Linked DNA regions of Homo sapiens: regions 1 and 3 are each linked to region 2. The links are contacts of gene promoters, found by promoter capture Hi-C in blood cells and fetal thymus (Javierre and others, 2016). All regions are on one chromosome and are shown on one strand. Each heading gives the region's core, a stretch centred on a gene start or on the middle of the fragment in contact. The rest is flanking DNA. Distances are from core to core; before and after follow the strand shown. Region 1 overlaps GPR176 (G protein-coupled receptor 176). Region 2 holds the start of BMF (Bcl2 modifying factor). Region 3 has its middle 9.0 kb from the start of BAHD1.

Region 1 (2,807 bases), core at 257-2,756, 310 kb before region 2:
GCTGTACAAACAGACTGAAAAGGAGACTGGCCACACCTGAGTTCCGGAGTCTTCCTCGGAAGGAAACCATCTTTGTCAGATTCTTGCCAACCTTTTGGGCAGAGTCACCTTTCCAAATCAGGCCTTTTCAGTTTGATGTTTCCAAAGGACCCAGCTTACACTAACTCTCCATTTTAAAAATACCTTTTAATTCCTAAAGTTTGCATAAGATGATTTTTTCAATATATTTGACTCATACTGGTTGTTACATAGCACCTTTCATGTGAGATCATAGGGAAGAAAAAAAAACTACAGCGCCATAGGCATCTCTCAGGCATCTCCCCCGTAAGCTTCTCTCTCATTTGTTGAGAAAACACAATTTAAGGTGAAAGACAGAGCGAAGACTTTTCAGTGTTTTCCAGCCAACACTGACCCTGACTGGAGGGTGCAGGTGTATCTCTCTGAGGCGTTGGTGATGCCAAGGGAAAATCAGAATTATCAAGGACAAAATATCTCCCTTACTCCCGGGCACATCTATCGCCATGTGTACCATAGGTGAGGAATCGTCATTCCTTACCTACATCCCAATGAAAGGGACGAAGGGTATCAGGAGAAACAGTGAGTCATATGACTGGGGCTTCCAGAGAAACAGTGTAAGACACCAAATCCCTACCTTCTCAACAGAAAATGTTTGACATGTTTAAGTTCATCAAACAGGCATTTTCTCTGGAGCCACCATGCTCCATCATGATCTTGGAATTCCCTTAGAGTGCTCCTGCTCCCTGCTCCTGTGAGCTCTGAAAGTCTTCTCTCTGTGTGTTCTCTGCAGAGCCCAGGGAAGTGAGGCATCCTCAGAAAGTGCACATGGGGTACCCACCTCAAGACCCATTCAAAACTGCCCAGCTCTTGTCCCCACAGAGAATAATGTGGACTTCACTAAGGACATGGATCACTGAGATGGATACATATACTCCCTCAATAAAGAGGACACTGGATTTTATGTAGATTTCCCTATCATTCAAAAGCATCTGGCCCATATTGGAGGAATCAACTCACACTGAGTTGCAAGGAGATCATACAATCACATGGCCACAGCATTCCCACACTCTGGTGGGAATATGGAAGCTCCCCGTTGCTTCCAAGAATTTACAATCCTTGCTAGGAATCCACCTTTGGAAAAATGCTCACTTTATTGTTTCTGCTCATCTTCCGCTCCACCCTGCCTACCTTGGGCACCTTTGTCTGGATCAGCTCTTCTGGGGTGTTGCCCAAGGGGGGAAGCAGCCGCTTCTTGCTGTTTCGGGTCTCTGAGAGCCACTGAGGAGGCAACTCAAAAGGCCCAAAGCCAAACTGCAGGGAATACTTATCAGGGAATGTTTCAGGTTCCACAGGGGCTGCCGGTGCCACCTGGGATACAGAGTCCACTGTGCTCAGGGGTGGGGCAGAGGGCGCAAACTGTGGCCCCTGCTCTCCCTCCAGGCAGGTGCTAAATATCTCCTTGGCCTGGAAGTCAGCTGAGCCAATGTACTTGGCCTCACTCTCTTCCTCATCCTCTGTGGGCTTAAAGATCTGCTGCTGCCCAATGTGGAACATCTCCAGGAGCTGGCTACCCGAGCGTATGCTGGGTTCCAGGCTGGCCTCAGCCATGCCACTCCCTGTACTGACCACATTACGGCGACTGTACCGGTGGTGTAGTTGCACCAGGGTCCCTATCAAGCACTTGCGGACAGATTTGTTCACAGTAAGAAAGAGAACAGGGTTTGCCAGCAGGGAGACTTTGGGCAGCCAAACAGCAGTGAGCAGCAAGAAGACGGAAGTGTCAGGGACATTGAGCACAGTCTGGTAGACGACCAGGGTGGCATAGGGCACGCTACACAAGATGAAGACCATCACCATGGAGAGCAGGGTGGCGTGCAGCTCGGCCTCCCGCTGGGAGGCATAGGGAATAGAGATGGTGTTCTGTGGGGTCCGGAGCGCTGCTATGATGACCTTCTTCTTCTGGCTGGCACTCAGGGCCCGTCGGATCAGTATCAAGAAGAGGAACACCACCACCACAGGCACAATGACCGTGGTGATGTTATACACCAGAACGTACACCAGGTGGCCCAAGGAGTTGCTCCAGACTTCCGTGCAGGTGGACGTGGCATAGATGTCAGCCACATTGGTTACTGCAAACACAGGGACACTGGCCACCACTGCATGGGCCCAGATGTACATCACCAGTTCACGGGACTTGGCATCAGATATTTTCCTCTCCAGTGGATAGAGGACTGAGTAGTACCTGCAAGATACACAAACAAAATTAATTCCACAGAAGATACTTTTTAAATTAGGGGAACCTAAATCACCAAAAGTAGATGAGAGGGAAGAAAGGTCAAGTTCTTCTATTCGGCCTAAGACAGAAAAGCACTGGGGGAATCCAGGAAGCCAGACCTAAGTTTTGAGGACTTTGCAAGTACAATAAGAAGCGTCACTAGACCAAAAAATAAAAACCTTTCCAAAGGAGCAGCAAACCTGTCCTCATGAGGCTTTACAGGAAAACAAGTAAATAATTTCAATTCATAGCTAGCTTTATAATTATTGCTACCAGGATGAAATCGCAAACAGTACCCTCCATATAAAAGATTTCTCCATCTGCTATAAAGATATCTACTTTTCAATTTGAGGGTAAAGGGTAATTGGTAAACAATTTTATATGGGCTAAAGAAGCTTTAGGGCAATTTTCAAAGCTACCAACAGAAATAAGTTTGTCTACACACATATCTAAAGCAGACTTATGCCACAGTCCAGATATCATTAACAATTAAAGTTGTTCAGGGCAGAAGAAC
Region 2 (2,751 bases), core at 156-2,655:
AGGAGATGCCTGCTAGGATGGCAAGCAGCCACGTGGTGTTCTTTGGACCGTGTTTCCCAAGTGTGTGTGTGTGTGTGTGTGTGTGTGTGTGTGTGTGTGTGTATGGGGAGGGGGGTGAGGTGGTGCACTCCAGCTTATTAACAACAGGAAACAAAATTTCCTGATGAAAGGACCAAGTGCTGTCCCGCCAGTCACCTGGCAGGGGCTCCCCTCCAGCTCTCCAACCTCCTCTTCTCAGGCTAGCAATCTTGACCTAAGAAGGGGCCCTCAAAGCCAATCACCAGCACGAGTCATTGTCTTGGTTTTTCCTTTGAAGCCTATCACCTTCCCCTCCCCCTCCCAGCAAAGCCCCAAAGTTCAACCTTTGCCTGGACTGGACAGTGGGGGAGGTGCAGCCAGAAGGTGTGGCTCTGCAAGCCCCAGGGACCCCTCTCACGCTCCACAAACTGTAGGTGGCTTGCCTGTAGGTGGGCGCCTCTGGAGGGGTGCTGGCCAAGGTCAAGGGTAAACTAAGAGAGGGTGAAATTTTTCTCCTGAGCTTAAGAGGTGATGTCCAGAGCGGTGGGAGGAGGAGGGCACTTCCTGAGAACAGGGCCAGGGAATGCTTTATTCCTAGCAAAGGAACTCAAGCCCCGCTGCAGCCATCCCAACCCCTAAGGGCTGGAAGAGGGATGCTGAACTTAGACTCCTCCTCCTCTTAGGAGAAGGCAGTAGTCAGACACCCAGATCCTCGACAGTGACTAGGAACACACACACACACACACACACACACACACACCCCAGACCTGGGTGACTCCAGGAGAGAGTCTCGGCCTCCGAGTCGTGATGCCAGGGCTCCGCGCCAGGGTCCAGCGTGACGAGCACTCGGGGGCTGGACGCCCAGACTCGATTGGGAAGGAGGGAAAAAGCCCAGCTGTTAAGGAGAGGAGCCTTCAGACTCCGCAGAGAGGCAGGATGCCCCACAGCTCCTGTCCTATCCCAAAGTCAGACCCAGAGGCTGGGCCGTTCTCGGGCGCCCAGGTCTGCTCAGCAGTGCACCCCAGGTTCCCCTGCCTACCTGGACCCAACTCCTTCGAGTCCCAAATGCTACCCCCAAGTTCCCTCTTGGAGCAGCGCACCCAACTGTGGGTTCTGCACCCCGTTCCCTCACCCCAGCGCCCCAGTTCTTCATGGTCACCCCAGACGTCCGCAGCCCAAACCCTTCCCGGGCCCCCGTGCGCAGCGCGACTCCGCTCCCCACTTCCCCAAGGAGCTGCGATCCAACTCCGCCCGGCCCCCGGCGGCCACCCGGGCGCTCACCGGGCTGCGGCAGGAGGCGGGAGGCGCAGGCAGGGGCGGCGGCGGCGGCGGGCACAGGCCGGGGCGGGAGGAGGCCACTCCGCACGGTGCGGTATTGTTTCCAAAATACGCCTGCTCGGGGCATCCCGCAAACAGCTGATGAGGCCCCGCCCCCCTGCGCGTCACGCCGAGGACTGACCAATGGCGAGTGAAGCGCCAAGTCCCGGGCTGGGCCGCTGCCAGGGACGGTCACGAATGTACGAACCTTCCCATGGAAACATTGCAAGGGGCCGAGCAAAATTCCGACCGTCGCCAGAAGCGCAGTCGGAGCGCCGTCGCCAGTGCGGATTCTGTCCCTAACACAGGCTCTGGAAGCGCCAGAGAGTCCCTGAATCCTCTGTATTAGGTGTGGGAGAGGGGGCGCCAAAGTAACTTTTGTCTTCTTTTTCACGGCAATGGGCAGAATAATTGCTGCGCGTCCACAAAGGGAGGGGGGAAGGAGGCGGGGAGTTTTTTTATGAGGCTGGTGCGTCCAGTGGGTGCAGGGTGCAGGGTGCGGGTCCCTATGGGATCCCAGCCTCAGGGGAAAGCTCCCTCCCGCCTGCCGAGCAGGTCGGAAGAAAACTGCAGCTCCAAAGCTGAAGGTGTGTTTGAAACAAACACATCCAGGGGAGCCCTTAGGTCCTCTTCTTGACTGGGCGTGGGCACTGGCAAAATAAGCACCTGGCTGAGAAGCGGAGCGCTCAAGAAGGCCGGGGCTGCTTGAGCGGTTGACACATATCTCGCATATGGCAGCATTTAGAGACTGTGCTGGTGCTGCCAGGAGAGCAGCATGTCCTGCAGACCGCGTAAGGGAGTCTATGGGCTACTTCACAGGCATTTACCGAGCACCTACTCTGTGCCAGATATTGGGCTGAGTGCCAGAAACCTGGCGTCTGCCCTCAAGGAGCTTACAGTCTACTAGGAGAGGTAGCCCTGAAAATAGTGAAAAGTTATTGGAATTGTATTCATTCCAAGGATAATGACTATTGAGGAATGCAGAAAAATTCAGAATACAAAGGCTGGAGAAGGCCTCAGGGAGACAGCTTTTAAATTGAATGGGAAATATTTTTCAATAAGGAAAACCAGATGCACATGTCTCACGCCTGTAATCCCAACACTTTGGGAGGCCGAGGCGGGTGGTTCACTTGAGCTCAGTGGTTGGAGACCAGCCTGGCCAACACGGGAAACCCTGTCTCTACTAAAAATACAAAAATCAGGCGGGCGTGGTGGCGCATGCCTGTAATCCCAGCTACTTGGGAGGCTGAGGTAGGAGAATTGCTTGAACCTAGGAGGTGAAGGTTGCAGTGGGCGGAGATAGCGCCACCGCACTCCAGCCTGGGCGACAATGAGACTCCGTCTCAAAAAAATAAAAATAAAATAAAATAAAAAAGAATAGCCCAGGCCTAAGGGTAGCAGACTGAAGTGCTGAGC
Region 3 (2,918 bases), core at 351-2,850, 320 kb after region 2:
AGGGTTTAAGCAGGAGAGTGCTATGAGGCAGTCTATTTTGGAAAGATCCCTCTGACTGGGGCAGAGTGGATGCGGGAGGCTGGGCTGTGGTTGATCACAGAGGTGGGAGGAGATTCGAGGCTGGAGACTCCAGTAAATGACAGGCTGTGGTGATGGATTAGCTATGGGTGGCGGCTTGGGAGGGAGAGGGAGGTGCCAAGGATGAGTCCAAGGTTCTTGACTCTTAAAACTGCCAGTGCACCCCACAGTGGAAACATTGGGAGAACACTGAGTTTGCTTGTAGTTGGAAGTTGGCTGAAGTGTATCTGATGTTCTTGAAAGACCATATTGATGTTTCAGTGTCAAAGAGAGTGCAGAAGGCAGGGAAAGGGTACTTTTGATAACGGCTTTGCCAAAGGAATATCTTTTTATAAAGAAATATGACAATCGACTTGCAACATTTTGCCCCCAATCTAACAGTGAGATGAATGTTGCTCACAGCAACTTCATGTGTAAAATTTGAATGAGTTGCTAACAGACATTTGGAAAACATAAGAGTAGAGAATTGTTTGGGGAAGCTTATTTAGGAAGAAGTGATGGAGAAATCATTAAAAGTGACAAGGCTGGGATGTAAACCCTGGCTCCACTATTATTACGCTTTTTTTTTTTTTGTCTTTTTTTTTCTTCCTTTTTGTGGAGAACGGGGTCTCGCTTTATTGCCCAGACAGGTCTCGAACTCCTGGGCTCAAGCTATCCTCCCACCTCTGCCTCCCTGAGACCTGGGATTACAGGTGTGAGCCACCGTGCCCAGCCGGCTCCACTATTATTAATGTGACCCTGGGAAGTTACCGAACCTCTCTATGCCTCAGTTTTCTCATTAGTAAAATGAGAATAATAACACTATCTATTTCATAAGACTGGCTGGGGATTAAGAGTATGTGTAGGCCGGGCGCAGTGGCTCACGCCTGTAATCCCAGCACTTTGGGAGGCCGAGGCAGGCAGATCACGAGGTCAGGAGACCGAGACCAGCCTGGCTAACATGGTGAAACCCCGTCTCTACTAAAAATACAAAAAATTAGCTGGGCACAGTGGCGGGCGCCTGTAGTCCCAGCTACTCGGGAGGCTGAGGCAGGAGAATGGTGTGAACTTGGAAGGCAGAGCTTGCAGTGAGCTGAGATCACGCCACTGCACTCCAGCCTGGGCTACAGAGCAAGACTCCATCTCAAAAAAAAAAAAAAGATTATGTGTAAAGAGCTTAACACAGTGCCTAACTCATGGAATCTCTCCAGGAACATTACCTATCACAGAATACACCCTGACAGAGGGAAGCAATGAAAAAGGCAATTGCTGATTTCCCATAATCCCTTTCAACAAAGAAGAGTTGTTGTCTATATAACTAAGTGTAATTTTTATAAATGCCCTTATTAGATTTTTAAATATAGTATAATATTCACAAATCAAGGGGAAAAATTGTCAGGCCTCTCATATCTAAGTCTTTTTTTTTTTTTTTTGAGATAGATTCTCACTCCATCACCCAGGTTGGAGTGCAATAGTTCCATCTTGGCTCACTGCAATCTCCACCCCCCAGGTTCAAGCGATTCTTATGCCTCAGCCTCCTGAGTAGCTGGAACTACAGATGCGTGTCACCACACCTGTAGAGACAGGGTTTTGCCACATTGGCCAGACTGGTCTTGAACTCCTGGCCTCAAGTGATCCGCCCACCTCGGCCCCCCAAAGTGCTGGAATTACAGGTGTGAGCCACTGCGCCTGGCCTATCATATCTAAGTCTTGATGTCACTTTTCCAGTTACTAATCATCTGGCCCAGTCTTGCTTAGGTCATACACTCTTTGATGTGCTCTTCAGTTTCTGAGGATCACGCCTCTGCTGGGTGGAGTAGCTTTCCTAGGTCAGAAGCAATGCTGTCTGCATGGCCTCCCAAGTCTTCTTGGTGCCTGCACAGTGCAGAGCACAGGTGGCACCATGGTTGGTTAACACCATACTTGTGGCCCAGACTGTAGTCCCCCCAGAGGGTGTCTGCTGGAAAGGGCTGGTCCTGGCTCTTGCTGTGGGTTCACTGAGGTTAAGTGAAGATGGCAAAAGAACCACAGGTGATTCTCTCCTCTGCTCTGGGTTTTGCAAGACTAGAGAGGTCAGTGGCTGTGGCTGAGAGCCTGTAGGAGATGGAACTACCTCACCTTGAGGAATGTGCTTAGGGATGCCACAGAGAATCTTTCCCGAAGAGGGAAATGGCTAGGGCCCTGGCCTTGGGAGGATGGAATGGAGAAGCCATGGGAAGAGGGGCTGGCCTCTCCTCCAAACCCAGCAAAGGGAGCCATCCTGCCTGACTGAAGCCAGAGTGGGGCCCACTGCTGGGTGGACAGAATACAGCCACAGGCACTACATTGTCAGAGCTCCAGATGGGAGACAAGGAGTACAAAACAGAGGTGGAAGACTGATTCCAGTATGGAAGCAGGGCAGGCTTCAGGCATGGCCAGATTTGGGCATGATGAAATAGATTCACAATTGCTAATGTTCTGGGGGCACTTGTGGCTACATCAGGTACTATTCTAAGTACTTTATATGTTTTAAGACACTGTAGCGCCAGGACTGTACTCAGAAAGTCTGCATTCTTAACCACTACGCTATGTGAAATGTAGAAAGAAGAAAGCTTTTAGACATATAAAGGGTTAGACCTCTATTTTATATGTTAAATGCCGTATGAAAAAAAAAGCAAAGGTTTTGGAGCCACTCCAAGCCTATGTGATCTTGGGCAGTTACTTAGATTCTCCAGGTCTCAGTTTCCTCATTTGTTTGTAAATTTGAGAGTACATTTACCTACCAGAGTTCTTGAGGGTTAAATAAAGAAACGTATGTTGAGTGCCTGTTCATGCCTTCTGTAAGAGACACCTGCCCCCTCTGGACCTCCTGCCGGCTTTGG

Evidence for each region. Contacts are between HindIII fragments. The CHiCAGO score rates a contact against its expected background, and 5 or more counts as called.
Region 1: a fragment that was not itself captured here is called in contact with the fragment with the promoter of BMF in region 2 in 3 of 17 cell types (erythroblasts, naive B cells and total B cells); the score reaches 6.0 in erythroblasts.
Region 3: a contact is called between a fragment that was not itself captured here and the fragment with the promoter of BMF in region 2, in 1 of 17 cell types (naive B cells). The highest score is 6.3, in naive B cells.

What each region holds. Positions count from the first base shown.
Region 1 is chr15:39,799,995-39,802,801 of GRCh38, forward strand. It overlaps GPR176 (G protein-coupled receptor 176), which reads right to left. Exons shown (of 3, transcript NM_007223.3): 3 at 1-2,260. The coding sequence ends at 1,138. Among named protein-coding and RNA genes, the nearest start is that of FSIP1, 19 kb to the left of the region's middle. The HindIII fragment of the contact is 2,359 bases long and covers 328-2,686 here.
Region 2 is chr15:40,107,474-40,110,224 of GRCh38, forward strand. BMF (Bcl2 modifying factor) reads right to left here and starts at 1,406. Exons shown (of 5, transcript NM_001003940.2): 1 at 1,300-1,406; 2 at 786-913. RefSeq lists an enhancer at 9-704 and a silencer at 1,214-1,463. The HindIII fragment of the contact is 6,207 bases long and covers 1-2,751 here.
Region 3 is chr15:40,430,492-40,433,409 of GRCh38, forward strand. It overlaps a transcript of IVD not described here. Among named protein-coding and RNA genes, the nearest start is that of BAHD1, 9.0 kb to the right of the region's middle. The HindIII fragment of the contact is 2,091 bases long and covers 556-2,646 here.